Linked DNA regions of Homo sapiens: region 2 is linked to region 1. The links are contacts of gene promoters, found by promoter capture Hi-C in human tissues and cell types (Jung and others, 2019). All regions are on one chromosome and are shown on one strand. Each heading gives the region's core, a stretch centred on a gene start or on the middle of the fragment in contact. The rest is flanking DNA. Distances are from core to core; before and after follow the strand shown. Region 1 holds the start of ARMC9 (armadillo repeat containing 9). Region 2 overlaps PSMD1 (proteasome 26S subunit, non-ATPase 1).

The links. Contacts are between HindIII fragments. The study calls those that stand out against the background at their distance.
Region 2: a fragment that was not itself captured here is called in contact with the fragment with the promoter of ARMC9 in region 1 in 3 of the 25 tissues and cell types used here (IMR-90 fibroblasts, adrenal gland and dorsolateral prefrontal cortex).

What each region holds. Positions count from the first base shown.
Region 1 is chr2:231,194,504-231,202,257 of GRCh38, forward strand. ARMC9 (armadillo repeat containing 9) reads left to right here and starts at 4,128. Exons shown (of 25, transcript NM_001352754.2): 1 at 4,128-4,195. RefSeq lists a silencer at 3,934-4,273. The HindIII fragment of the contact is 14,859 bases long and covers 1-7,754 here.
Region 2 is chr2:231,141,975-231,149,728 of GRCh38, forward strand. It overlaps PSMD1 (proteasome 26S subunit, non-ATPase 1), which reads left to right. Exons shown (of 25, transcript NM_002807.4): 18 at 4,266-4,382. Among named protein-coding and RNA genes, the nearest start is that of HTR2B, 21 kb to the left of the region's middle. The HindIII fragment of the contact is 3,934 bases long and covers 1,409-5,342 here.

The DNA of each region.
Region 1 (7,754 bases), core at 2,878-5,377:
GACCAGCCTGACCAACATGGAGAAACCCTGTCTCTACTAAAAATACAAAATCAGCTGGGCGTGGTGGCGCATGCCTGTAATCCCAGCTACTTGGGAGGCTGAGGCAGGAGAATCGTTTGAACCCCGGAGGCGGAGGTTGCAGTGAGCTGAGATTGCACCATTGCACTCCAGCCTGGGCAACAAAGAGTGAAACTCCGTCTCAAAAATAATAATAATAATAATAACAATCGATTGTGCCTGCATTACGAAGCCTCTGTAAAAATCCCTCAACCACAGCGTTTGAAGAGCTTCTAGACTGCTGAACCATGGAGGTACCTGGAGTGGGCATGGAAGGTCTGCGCCCCCATCCTTTGCCCTGGGTACCATCTCATCTGGCTGTTTATCTGTAACCTTTGTCACATTCTTTATAATGAGCCAGTACATGTGAGTGTTTCCTTCTATGAGCCATCCTAGTAAATTAATGGAACCCTCATTTATAGCCATTTGGTTAGAAGTACAGATGACAACTGCTACTTTTGACTGGCATCTGAGGTGGGGGACAGTCTTGTGGGACTGAGCCTTTGACCTATGGGATCTGATTCTAACTCCAGTCATTAGCTAGTATCAGAATTGAATTGTAGGACAACCAGTTAGTGTCTGCTGGATAGTTGCTTAGTGTGTAAGGAAAAACCTCCACACATCTGCTGTCAGAAGCATTGTGTTGAGGACGGGCATGGTGGCTCACACCTATAATCCCAGCACTTTGGGAGGCCAAAGCGGGAGGATCGCTTGAGCCTAGGCGTTCGAGACCAGCCTGGGCAACAAAGTGGGACCCCACCTCTAAGGAAAAAAAAAAAAAGAAAAAGCCGAGCATAGTGGTGCGTGCTTGTGGTCCCAGCAGCTACTTGGGAGGCTGAGGCAGGAGGATCACTTGAGCCTGGAAGCTGAGGCTGCAGCAAGCTATGACTGTGCCACTTCACTCTAGCCTGGGCAACAGAGTTAGACTCTGTCTCAAAAAAAAAAAAATGTGTTGAGTGTGAGAAGAGTAAAAGCAGTCAGTTTGGTTTTTCCTATCTCAAACAGACATATAGAAATTGTGTCTATGTTAGTCTGGTCTCTTTTGGTTGCAAGTGACAGAAACCCAACTTGAACCAGTTTATTAATTAAAATAATTTTTTTTTTGTACAGACGGATTTTTTTTTTTTGTACAGATGGATGTTGCTATGTTGTGTAGGCTGGTCTGAAACTCCTGGCCTCAAGCAATTCTCCCACCTTGGCCTCCCAAAGTGCTGGGATTACAGGCATGAGCCACCATGCAGGTCCAAACTAGTTGAAATTAAAAAGATGGTTGAAGTCGGGTGCAGTAATATGTATAATCCCAGCACTTTGGGAGGCTGAGGCAGGCAGATGGCTTGAGCTCAGGAGTTTGAGACCAGCCTGGGCAACATGGCAAAACTCCGTCTCTATAAAAAGTACAAAAATTAGCTGAGCGTGGTGGCACATGCCTGTAATCTCAGCTATGAGGGAGGCTGAGGTGGGAGGATTGTTTGAGCCCAGGAGGCAGAGGTTGCAGCAAGCTGAGATTGCGCCACTGCACTCCAGCCTGGGTGACAGAGTAAGACCCTGTCTCAAAAAAATAAAAAATTTAAAAGACAGTTGATTGGAAGGATGCTGGAGGAGCTGTAAGAATAAGTGCAGCTCCAGGGAACTCAGATCCTGGGACCAGGGATTTGATGTCCCCAGCACTTTCTTTGCATTTCTCTAGGTAATGGCTTCATCTTCTCAGTCTTTCCCATGTAGTGAATGCTGTAGGCTGCCCTGGAGTCTCACTTTACAATAACCTGACCACACTTCAACAGCAAAATCCCAGGGAAGGACTATCATTGGCTTTGCTTGGCTCACATGCCCATCCTGGACCCATCACTGAGGCCAGAGGGATGGGGTAAGATTGGTCCAGTTTGGACCATCTGCCCATCCTGTGGTGAGGGATGGGGTATGTTACCAGAAGGGAGAGGGGAGGTAGACAGACAAAGACAATAGCCACCACAATGACCATAATCCCGGCAGTCAGGCAAATGCACTCAGGAGGGAAAGCAAAGCAGGTGGGGTGTTCACGGCAGCTCAGAGCCCAGGGTCCAGAGACACGGAGACCTGGGTTTAGTCCTGGTCTCCTCAGTGGTGTAAACTTTGAGGAGTTTCTTAATCCCGTATGCCTCATGTTGTTCATCTTGCCAAAGACAAAACAGACAGCTCTAATCTCAGCTAATCAACCATGAGACAAAGAATGAGAAGCTGAAAAGTCTGTCCTTGGCCTTGCCGGCAGACTCAGGCAGAAGGGAAAAGGTCTGCATTTGTCCTTGTCACAGGTAAACAAGGGGGTCATCCGTGCATCATATGGGAGGCATGAGAAAGACAGGACTGTGGGTCTGATGAAGTCATATGTGGAAGGGTAGTTCTTTCTGATAAGCTACTTCCCAGAACACAAAAGTGTGGAGGATTTTAGAAAACAAAAGGTTTGGGGGTGCGTGGGTGAGATTTCTTAACTGTGGCTGTTTTCTAAGAGCACACAGCTCAGGTTAATTACAACATTGTCAATCAGTAAAATGCTGAAAATATTATTCATCTCATAGATGTGGTGTGAGAATTAAAAACTTTTTTTTTTTTGAGACAGAGTCTCACTCTGTTGCCCAGGCTGGAGTACAGTGGCGTGATCTCGGCTCACTGAAACCTCCATCTTCCGGGTTCAAGGATTCTCCTGCCTCAGCTTCCCGAGTGGCTGGGACTACAGGCACATGCCAATACGCCCAGCTAATTTTTGTATTTTTAGTAGAGACAGGTTTCACCATGTTGGCCAGGCTGGTCTGAAACTTGTGACCTTAGGTGATCCATCTGCCTTGGCCTCCCAAGTGCTGGGATTACAGGTGTGAGCCACCGTGCCGGGCCTGGTGTGAGAACTAAAGAAAACAATCTATATGATTCACTTAGCACAATGCTGGGCACACATATAGGCTGCACGTTTTGCAAACAAAAATACAGAACAATATAACATCCTACATGCACAATAAAATGAAGCAGTTTTTGGGATTTACTTACACTAAAACATTATCTAAAATTTACATTTAACTGTGTGTTCTATATTTTGTCTGGCATCTCCCGGCATACAGTTGTGTTGACGATAAATATTATGGCCATGGATTGAAGATTTATTTTCAATCCATATTACCTGGACAGAAGATAGGGCTCTCTTCTACTAAATACAGCTTTTTTTCTTTTGGAAGACAATCCACTGGCAGGGTTGGGGACTGGGGAAGTGGTGGCCACAGCCCATCTTAGGGCTTCTTCAAAGGCGAGCTGACCTACCTTCTCCGTGCCCCATTCCCTGTCTCTGGCCCTGGTAGCCTCCTCCTTCTTGGAAGCATGGAGGTGGAAACACTGAGGTGGCAACGAGAGACTCCCACGGAATCTCAACGCCTGGAGGGGAGGGATTTTCTATCCATGGCCATCTCTTCACCCTCCAGCACAAAGTTGGGTGACTAGCAAGTGCTCATTCAGTGCTGATGAACTTCAGTTCAAAAGCATCAGGTGCAAAGAGAGGGAAGACGTGTGCTCCTGATTTATTTTTAATAGCCCACATTTGACATGGAAAACAAAAAGTTTCTCTGAAATCCTTGGAAACCGCTGCAGTGGGGCGGGACCCTGGTCCCCGGAGCTTTAATGCACATCTTGGGCGTCACTTTTGGTTCTAAGGTGGCCCCAGGTCCCTCCTTTAAGATGGGAATAACCATGCCTGACTCTTTCCCCACGGACACCACACTGTCCTAGTTTGTGTTCTCTACGCGACCACGAGCTCCTTGAGACAAGGGGTTGAGCCTGCTCCGGCTCATCCCGAGAGCCGGCGCAGCGACTGGCGCAACGAAAGGGAAATGAACGAATGAATGAACGAACGAAAGTGGAGTGGTGGAGAGGACCACAGAAGACGCGGTCATCCAGCGCGTGAACCTTCACCACTGCTGGGCTGTGGACCCTCACTTCCGCCGCCAGGAAGTTTCGGGGTCGCCCACCTTCCCTCCCAGGCTGCTCCGCGTCGGCGGCGCCCCGCGCGATTGGCTGCGCCGCCCCCACGTGACGCCGGGGTGGCGGCGGCGGTTGCCCGGGTGACGGCTGCGGAGGTGGCGGCCGGGCTGGGATAGCGCGAGTGTCCGCGGCCGAGCAGCAGGTAAGCGCGTCCCCGGATGCAGCCGGGCCACCCTCCGCCCGCCGTCCTGGTGCTGGGAGGAGCAGCGGTGCGTTTGGAGGGCCGAGGCTCTGCGGACCTCTTGTTCCGAGGAAAAACCCGACGCGCCCGCTCCGCCGCCGCCGGATGCTACCACTTCTCGCCTGCGGTCCAGGGATCTTTCTTCGGCAAGGGCCGAGGCGGCCGCCTGGACATCCCAAGAAAGGACAGGCCCAGCTGCTTCCCGCAAGTAGTCCCTGATCTTTGCTGCAGTGGGCCATACTTGGAGGGGGTCCCTCAAGCCATCCAGCTGGTGGTGGCGGCGCGAGCGGGTTATCCGGGATTTAGATCCCCCTGATAATCTCCATCTGCTAGCCGCGTTCCTGAGGCACCCAGTTGAAGTCCAGACTTCACCTAATCTTAGGAAAAACAGGATGCGTGCTATGCAGATTCGGCTTCCATACAAATCCCATAATCCCACCCGTTTGTGGGCCCTAAATCTTTCTTATATAGGAATTCAAAAGCTGCCGCTGCAATCCCCAAATGTAACTGGAAAAGTTTTTCTTAGTTTCCGCATAAAGGAGAGCACTGGTTCTCAAACTTGAGAGTGTGTAAAAGTCACTCAGGGAGCTTGTTTAAAAGGCAGATTTCTGGGCATGGTGCCTGCCACGGTGTTCAGTAAGACCAGGGTGGAGGCAGGAATTTTCATTTGCACAAGCGTGCCAGCTGATTCTGATTTAGGTGGTCCAGACTTTGGGAAATACTGTGTAGTGGTTCTTTTCAGCCGCTTAGTCACTTACTGTGGCTGTTGGGAGTGTGTCAGACTTCCTGGGCCTCAAATTGCCTCATCTGGAATGGGAAAATATAAACTATATTCACCTGTCAGGTTTACTATGAAGGTTAAATGTAAAACATTTTGCACATTGCCTGGCATACCATATACCTTCAATAAATGATACCTATTATGATATAAAAGTTTAGAGAAAATTCTGTAATTTCTTTTTCTTTTCCTTTTTTTGAGACGGAGTCTTTCCCTGTCGCTCAGGCTGGAGTGGAGTGGCATGATCTCGGCTCACTGCAACCTCCACCTCCTGGGTTCAAGCGATTCTCTTGCCTCAGCCTCCCTGGTAGCTGGGATTACAGGTGCAGACGCCACCACGCCCGGCTAATTTTTGTATTTTTAGTAGAGATGGGGTTCCACCATGTTGATCAGGCTGGTCTCGAACTCCTGACCTCAGGTGATCCGCCTGCCTCAGCCTCCCAAAGTGTTGGGATTACAGGTGTGAGCCACTGTGCCTGGCCAATTCTGTAATTTCTAAGAATGTTGAGTAATAGGATACCCAGCAGCACTCACATTCAATGACAGTTGATCACAGCAGATACTATTTAAACGGCTTAGGGAGGTCTACTCTAAGGAGGTGATGTTTATTAGGCACAGTGGTTAACCAGGTGAAGAGAGGGAAGAGTGTTCTAGGCGGAGAGAGTAATATGCGCAAAGGCCTTGAGGTTGGCCTCAAGGTTTCAAATTCTCAGAAACTCACTTTTCCCGTTCCAGGGCCTTTAAAATGACATCCCCTCAGCTCCGGCTTCATTTATTCATTATATGCCTTGAGTACCTTTCTTGCTTACTAGACACTCTGTTAGGTTCTGGGGATATGAAGTTGAAATACAGCTCCCTGTCTTTGTGAACAGGGTTATAAGAAGTGCCAGGTGCAGTGGCTCATGCCTGTAATCCCTGCACTTTGGGTGGGTGAATCGCTTGAGGTCAGGAGTTCAAGACCAGCCTGGCCAACCTGGTGAAACCCTGTCTCTACTAAAAATACAAAAATTAGCTGGGCGTTGGTGGCGGACGCCTGTAATCCCATATACTTGGGAGGCTGAGGCAGGAGAATCACTTGAACCTGGGAGGCAGAGGTTGCAGTGAGCCAGATTGCACCTTTGCACTCCAGCCTGGGCGGCAAAAGTGAAACTCCATCTCAAAACAACAAAATTAGCTGGGCGTCATGGCGCATGCCTATAACCCCAGCTACTTGGGAGGCTGAGGTGGGAGAATCACTTGAACCCAGGAGGTGGAGGTTGCAGTGAGCCGAGATCCCGCCACTGCACTCCAGCCTGGGCAACAGAGCTAAACTCCATCTCAGAAAAAGAAAAAAAAAAAAAAGCCTTGGTAGGGAAAGAAGGGAGGGGTTTTTCATGGAAGACTTCTTGAAAAGAGATTAAATCTGGCTTGGCTTAGAATCATGAGTCATGTTTGCCTGGGGGGGCAGAGCATACATCAACCACAGGCTTAGGATCCTGGAAGAGCTTGTTGCATGGGGGAATGGCCAGGAGTTCGCTGTTGGCAGGGTCCAGTGTGGGATTGGTGGAAGGGAGCAAGGAGAGGGATCAGGTAGGGGGAGGTGGATGGATTGGAGGCATGGTCCAGAAAAAGGCTGGAGAGGTGGGTGTCCCCCAGGAGCAGCTGCCTTTCTTCTCTCCCCTTTTGCATCTGGCAGGGCTGGTGTGGTGCATGGGGAGGTGTCCTCCCTGCTCCTCATTACTGCTTCCAGATCACTACCCACTCCTTCACAAACCCCAGCTCCTTTGAAGCACATGGCAGATGCCATACCCCTTGCCAGCCCTCCCTGAGGTAGCCACTTCCCAGGGCAAGTCTCTCCAGTTCCCTTGGAGCCTCCAGCACCCGGCTGGCTGCCTATCCCTTCATCTCTTTTACTTCACTTTTGGGGGTTTCCACATCCTGGCCCCTCCAGTTTCTTCATCCTCCTTACTTGCAGGCGTCTCTTTCCTCCATCCTCCTCATCTGCCCACTCCCGTGGTCGGGAGCTTTTTAGTACTAGTCACCTTCAAAGTCTTGCCTTCAGGCATCTGTCCCACTCTCTGCCCACTCCTTTCCATCTTTCACACTCACTGGAATGTGCCTCCTTCAGCAGGTCTCAGACCCCACTGCTTCCTCACTGCTCTGCAGCCGCCTTATGTGTGTTCCCCTCCCCCATTCTTAACCTGATTAGTTCCAGTGTCCCATCGTGGTTGTACTGTTTTCCCTTTCCTCTCTCTTCTAGAAGAACCTCTCACATTGGTTAACCTAACTCAGATAGCTGAAAGTGCCTGGAGAAGAGCTGCAAAACTGTGCAGACTGATTCCATTTTAGATTCAAGTGCAGAGATCTTAAATGGACTATAATACCAGCAACCCTGCCATGTTGCTGTAGTCGCTTTGGTTCCCACCCTCCCTTCCGTTCCCACTCTCCCTTCTCTTCGAACTGTCACCATGCTTCTTACTTGCAGCCGATGACCTTTTTTCTTTCTTTCTTTTTTTTTTTTTTTTGACAGAGTCTCACTCTGTTGCCCAGGATGGAGTGCAATGGCACGATCTCGGCTCATTGCAACCTCCACTTCCTGGGTTCAAGCGATTCTCCTGCCTCAGCTTCCAGAGTAGCTGGGATTACAGGTGCCTGCCACCACACCCGGCTAATTTTTGTATTTTTAGTAGAGATGGGGTTTTACCATGCTGGTCAGGCTGGTCTTGAACTCCCAGCATCAGGCGATCTGCCTGCCTTGGCCTC
Region 2 (7,754 bases), core at 2,126-4,625, 53 kb before region 1:
TGGGTTCAAACGATTCTCCTGCCTCAGCTTCCTGAGTAGCTGGGATTACAGGCATGTGCCACCACACCCGGCTAATTTTTATATTTTTAGTAGAGGCGGGGTTTCACCATGTTGGCCAGGCTGGTCTCGAACTCCTGACCTCAGGTTGTCCACCCGCCTCAGCTTCCCAAAGTGCTGGGATTATAGGCATGAGCCACTGTGCCCGGCCAGTTTTTTTATTTTTAATTAATTTACTTATGTTTTAATTTATTTGGGGGGAGAATTTCTTACATGAGAATGTATCTTCAGTTTTACTAGAGATGTCATTGGGTATATCGAATGTAGTTATAGAAATTGGCCTTATTTTTTTTCTACAACACATCTGTTCTGTAAACAAAGGAAGAATATAGTTGTATGTTTTACTAAGTATTTCCCCCCTCGAGTCTTAAGTTGACATTTATGTCAGGCCTCATAAGTTAAATGTAAATTAGATTCTTTTTTCTTTTCAGATTATTCTGAACTTAATATGATATCTAGGAGCAAATGTTCTTTGAAACACAGCATCTGACAAGTTAATTGAATGAAAAGTTTTTTTATTACTCATACTAAACAAGCCTTTATTTCTAGATAATTTATGTGATCTAGGTATCAGTACCTATGTAACTAGTTTGGGACTTTTTTTTAATTATTTCTTAAAAACCTGAAACATCTGTTTATTCTAAAATATACCATTGGGGTTGTATTATGTACCTCAAAGGCCGAGTTACTGTCTTTTACCTTCTAAAATGGAAATTTGGTTATATTTTTATCATGACTACTTCATAAAGAATATTGACAATATGTTTGAAAAACATACTCCCTGTGCACAGTGTCATTACATGTTTCAGTAATGTAGGGAGAAAGGATACCCATATCTGCTGTGTGTATTATCTGTTAATAGCTCTAATTTTAATATATATATGTTAAGTTTACATGTAGAGGAATCCAAAGTCACTTTCCAACAAAGGATTCAGTTCATTCTTTTCCTTGGTCTTGGAATGAAGGATACTTGAGAAACATCCTACCAAATTAAGAAATATCTGATAATCTTACAAGCCTATTACTCTTTTCGTCCCAGATTTATACCTACCTAAGGACCTTGTAAGGGATGTTGTGGGGTTTTTTGTTGTTTTTCTTGTTGTTTTGTATTTTTTTTTTAACTCTAATCTCAATGACAGATTAAAGGAACGTTGTGGGTTTGGTTTGGTTTGGTTTGGTTTGGTTTGGTTTGGTTTGGTTTGGTTTGGTTTGGTTTAAGACAGAGTCTTGCTCTGTTGCCCAGGCTAGAGTGCAGTGGCGCTATCTCGGCTCACTGGAACCTCCACCTCCTGGGTTCAAGTGATTCTCCTGCCTCAGCCTCCCCAGTAGCTGGGATTACAGGTGCCCACCACCACGCCCAGCTAATTTTTGTATCTTTAGTAGAGACGGGGTTTCACCATGTTGGTCAGGCTGGTCTCGGACTCCTGACCTCGTGATCCACCTGCCTCGGCCTCCCAAAGTGCTGGGATTATAGGCGTGAGCCACCGTGCCCGGCCAGGGACATTGTGTTTTAAAGTGGCTCTTCCCAAAAGTCCTGCAGAGTGTGAATAGAAGTTATACGGGGCAAAAGAGTTTTTGATCAAATACATTGGACAAATGCTGGTATAAACAACAGTTGAGTGGTTTATAATAAGGCATCCTAGAACTTTTGTTATGATATGTATATTCCTAGAACCTTTGATACAGTGTATACATATATTTTGTATCTGCAAGAGGAGATGATATATATACAGTATGCCTGAACTCCCAAACTTATTTATTAAAGGACTTCTTTTTTCATAGAACTGATATTCTGAAGAATAGGATATTGGGGAAATACTGATAAATATTTTGGAAAATTTCATCACTTGTGGTCTTAGGAAGTGCAACCATGAAATCAATTCTAGTCTATGATTTCATTTGTTTTGCTATTCTACTAGCTAGTAAAATATTTTGTTTGGAAAATTTTGGGTTTTTTGTTTGTTTATTTTTTTGTCTTGATTTAACTTTTAAAATTAGGTCTTATAAAATCATCTGAGATGTTACCTTACTCTAATATTTGTTTATTACTATTTTTCTTTTTTCTTTTTTATATTAGAGACAGGGTCAACTATGTTGCGCAGGCTAGTCTTGAACTCTTGGGATCAAGTAGTCATCCCACCTTGCCTCTCAGAGTGTTGGGATTACAGGCGTGAGCCATCGCACCCAACCTTACGCTAATATTTGAAAGAGGTTTGTTTCCTTTTTTTTTTTTTTTGGAGACAGAGTTTCACTCTTGTTGCCCAGGCCGGAGTGCAATGGCACTATCCTGCCTCACTGCAACCTCTGCCTCCTTGGTTCAAGCGATTCTCCAGCCTCAGCCTCCTGAGTAGCCAGGACTTCAGGCACCCGCCACCACGCCCAGCTAATTTTTTTTTTTTTTTTTTTTTTTTTTTTTTTTGTATTTTTGGTAGAGACAGGGTTTCACCATGTTGGCCATGCTGATCACGATCTCCTGACCTCAGATGATCCACCCTCCTTGGCCTCCCAAAGTGCTGGGATTACAGGCATCTGCCACCACGCCCAGCTAATTTTTGTATTTTTAGTAGAGAAGGGGTTTTACCATGTTGGCCAGGCTGGTCTCAAACTCCTGGCCTCAATTAATCCACCCACTTTGGCCTCACAAAGTGCTGGGATTACAGGCACAAGCCACCACGCCCACCCAGCCTGACAGAGGTTGAATTATACAAATTTTGGATTCAGACTGGCCTGGGTTTGCTATCAGTACTTACTCGACTTTGGGCAAGTTATTTAACCTTTCTATCTCTCAGTTTCTTTGTTTATAAAGATTGTTTTGTGCTGGATTTTGTTTGTTTTAGGAGTAAGAGGGTTATATAGCATAATACATAAAATACCTAGTACTGTGTCTGAAAAGTAATAGGTGTTTATCAAATGTTAATCCCATTTTCTCTTAATTTTTTATGACCTCTTACCTCAAGACGAGAGCGCTCAGGTTCTAAAGCTTCCTTTTCACTTACCCTCAGTTATATTGAAATTTAAGTAAAGCATGACCAGTTCTAAACTATTCCATTCACGTAGTTGTTAATTAACTTCTTACTACACTGTTGGATGAAATTATTGACTTAGAGTGACAGTAGATATAGTTGTGCATCATTTAAGAACAGGGATGCGTTCTGAGAAATGGCAGTTCCGTGAATGTACAAACATCATAGAGTATACTTACACAAACATAGATAGTTATGGTCTGTTGCTTCCAGAATACATACCTGTACGTCATGTTACTGTACTGACTAGGCAGTTATGGTAAAAATACAGTATAAAAGATAAAAAATCATACAACTATATAGGGCACTTAACCCTGAATGGAACTTGTAGGACTGGAACTTGCTCTGGGTGAGTCAGTGAGTGAGTGTTGAGTGAATGTGAGGGCGTACGACACTATTGTCACTATAATAGACTTTATAAACACTGTACACTTTGGCTACTAAATGTATACATTTTTTCTTCAATAATTGATCTTAGCTTATCTTTTTTTAATAAATTTTTAATTATTTTTAATTTTTTGACTCTTGTAATAACACTTGGTTTAAAACACAAACCTGGGCGGACACAGTGGCTCACGCCTATAATCGCAGCACTTTGGGAGGCTGAGGTGGGTGGATCACCTGAGGTCAGGAGGTGGAGACCAGCCTGGCCAACGTGGTGAAACCCATCTCTACTAAAAATACAAAAATTAGCCGGGGGTGGTAGCATGCACTTGTAATCCCAGCTACTCTGGAGGCTGAGTCAGGAGAATTTCTTAAACCCAGGAGGCAGGGGTTGCAGTGAGCCAAGATCGCGCCATTGCACTCCAGTCTGGGTGACAAGAGTTGAAGCTACATCTCAAAAAAAAAAAAAAAAAAAAAAAAAAAATTGTACCATTGTACAAAAATATTTTTTCTTTATGTTCTGTAAGGTTTTTTCTGTTTTCAAAATGATTTATTTATATTTTTTAAACTTTTTTGTAAAAAACTAAGACACACATACATTATACTAGGCCTACACAGGGCCAGTATCATCAATAAGTCACTTAGGCAATAGTAATTTTTCAACTCCATTATAATGGGACTACCATCATATATGCAGTGTGTCACTTCCCAGAATGTCGTTACATGGCATGTGACTATAAATTGAAAGTTCAGCCATATCAACTTTATTTAAAAGTTGTGTGTTTTTTTAAATTCTTTCAGGAAGCCATTAATTTGCTAGAACCAATGACAAACGACCCCGTGAACTACGTGAGGCAAGGGGCACTCATAGCTTCAGCTCTCATCATGATCCAGCAGACTGAAATCACTTGTCCAAAGGTGAGCAAACAAAGAAATTCCCTGGAAGAGAGATGGTTTGGTCTTTTCTTTAGTAACTTATCGTCTTTTGAGGACGTTTTTTAGTTCAAATATGGTAAACACTGAAAGTAAAGTAAAAGTAAAGAGAGCATTTTAGAGTATAAGAGAATGGGGAAACTTTAAATATGTAATGCTCTTTAAATGTATTTTTTAGACTTAATGGTCCCTTTGTTAATTTAAGTATATAACCATGCTTGAAAAATTAGAACTCTTGGGGTGTTAAAACCGTAAAATGAACTCTTTTTTTGCCTTTCACTGTCCTTTTAAAATGTATTCAGTGGGATAACTTTTTCCTCTGATAATATAGGATGCAAACTTAGGCAGTCCATGCCTTTTTTGATCTGTCCTTCTAAAGTAATTTTTAAAAAGCCTGCAGTCACTTTGTATCGTACATACCATCTTAGTTTAGAAATGAGTACATCCACATTCTCTTTTGGAATGTCATTGCCCTCCTAGGCGATCTTTTTGGGTGGAGTTCCAAATGGCTCCAAGACAGCTTTCTTTTCCACTTGACCCACATCTGCTCCACAGAAACACTCTTGTACATTTTGCCCTTCTGCATAGGAATATAATAGGATGTCAGTGCTAGTACCTCAGCTAATAGCTAATGTCTCAGTGCACAGCAGCCCCTGATCATATTGGACACTCCAAGTGGACCCTCTGAACCCCTATTCTGTAAACTTGGAGTGAGGGGGAAAGACTCACAACCCAGCTTGCCCCAAAGAGATCCTCTTCACATATCCTCCACAATCCACACCCACCTTGTGGGTGACTCCATAATAGTTTTGAGACACCTGTTTTAAAATTCTCTGATGAGCCCAGCATGGTGGTTCATTCCTATAATCCCAGTACTCCCGGAGGCTGAGGTGGGAGGATCACTTGAGCCCAGGAGTTCAAGGCTAGCCTGGGCAACATAGGGGGAGGCCCCATCACTACAAAGAATTAAAAAGGAATTAGCTGGGCATGGTGGCATGCGCCTGTAGTCCCAGCTATTTGGGAGCTGAGGTGGGAGAATCACTTAAGCCCAGGAGGCCAAGGCTGCAGTGAGCTGTGGTTGTGCCACTGCACTCCAGCCTGGGTGACAGAGCAAGACCCTGTCTCAAAAAATAAAATAAAATTATCTCATGATAATCTCTCAGTCCTCAGGTTGTTAGTGTTTGATATCTCATGTATCTTGTCATTTCAGCCAAAACTTCTCATTCTACTAAGAAACAGAAAATGCATGTATCTTATTTTTAATACATGTACTAAAATTAGCATTGATATACTAAATAGACACGTGTAGCTTACACAACAATTTCAGATCTTCTAATTCTTAAAGCTAGGGACTTTAGTATCCATGTATTAATTAATCCTGCTCATATAATGGGAAGTAGTCAAAAAATTGACAACAGAAAAAACTGTTGGCATTGTGTCTTATGCCTCATCGAGCAAATAATAGCACACCACCCTCATTTTCAGCAAAGTAGATTTGAGGAGGTAGAGAAAAGAAAAATTTCCGGAACTCATTGATTATTCTAATTTTATGGAGCTTTGTTTAAAAAAGTTCAAGTTCTAAACAGTTGCTGTCATCTTTGCTTCATTTATTTAGTGCTTCTATTTCTGTCTCAAAATCATTTTCAGGACTTTCAAAAATTGTATTATTACAAAGATAGAATCTGACTTCTCATCCTGTTTTTATAACGTATTACTTAATATACTACATCTTCTAGAACATAAACATCTTTCCAAACACCACATTTCTTTTTGTTTTTAAATATAGCAGCTATCATATGAGTAGCTTTTACATATTTTATTTCTGCTTTTGATCTTCAACTGAGCTTTTGGAGGTTATCCAACTGAGTAGTGTCATTAAAGAAACAAATTTTGGTCATGGAATGCACCTCCTCTAACAGTAATACATAGACATTCACTTTGACCCCACATGTTGCTTTCATGTTACTTGTATTGTCAGCAAGACAAATGTTCTGTCTTCCCATCCTCTGCTGTAGGATTTCATTGATTTTACAATTATAATCTCTGTTCCAAAAATGGCAGAGTCCTTTAGGAGCTGGATAATCATTCCAGGAACTGTTATTGAACCAAGTCTTACCTGGTGCAGATACATGGGGCACACTCCCATCTTCAGGTTGTATCGGAATCTTAGACACTGATTAAAATGTCAAAGTGAAGTCACAGCTAGTAGCCTTTGCCAGTAATATAAACTGGGTAGATAAATGTAAGTGTATATACCACTGACTAAAAAAGCAAAATTGACATGTGAAACTCAAAAATTCTTTCAGGAAACACTACTCTTTAGAGCAAAGTTGTTACTCAGCTTAAGAATTCTTAAAGTTAATTTCATTGTTTTCTGTTATTAAGCAAGTGATAAAGAATTTCATAGACTACAGTTTATATCATCTTTCCTTTATCTGATAATTGCCAACAAGACAAAATTGACATTTTGGAGATGGTATACAGCATGTTGCCAAAAAGAAAAATCTGTTGAGAAACTCTGAAGGGGAGTAGATTCTCAAGGCTACAGAGTCTTAATTGCAAGATTGCAAAACCAGTCCATGAAATAAAGTGGAAATGGCTCAAAAATAAAGATCAAATGTGAATTTCATCAAGAGTTATAAACCCCTCTCAAAGGAATTCAAAAGAGAAATTTCTCAGGTATTTTGTGAAATTCACAATGGAAATTCCCAAAGGAAATGTCTTATGTAACCATTAATATATGTCACATCCCTAACACTTAGCTCCACACGTTGCCCTCTTAGTTGAAGTATCTCCAGTACATCTTTGCTTTGCTTCTCTCAGTTTCTCGCTAGCTCATGCTCACAAACATAAACCCAGGAACATGCACACATCCCTGGATCAAAGGTTCACATTTAACAAGGGTAATGTTCTTTTTTAGGTCCTTGGAGCTATTTTGCTCTAAAAACCCAACTCTCCTCTTTATTAAATTATCTATCTTTTGTTTTTCTTGTTAAATGAAATCCACCATTAAGATGGGCACAGTGGCTGAGGCAGGAGACTCGCTTGAGCCTGGGAGTTCAAGGCCAGCCTGAACAACATCCCAAGACCCTATCTCTAAAAAACAAACAAAAAAATCACCATTAACAGTTACTCGAACATGTACATATTAAGTATCATATATAAACTCACATCAAAATATTACACTGTAAATATAGAATCTGGTGTTCCTATTACCAGTATTACTTGGCCTAAGGCCTGGTACAGGAAAGCTTCTCCTATCATTGACAAGTACCCTCTTTGGAAGTAGAATTAAGCTCCTGCAGTTCTAAAATAAATCACTGTATATATGATTTCACAGCATAACACATTTGTAAG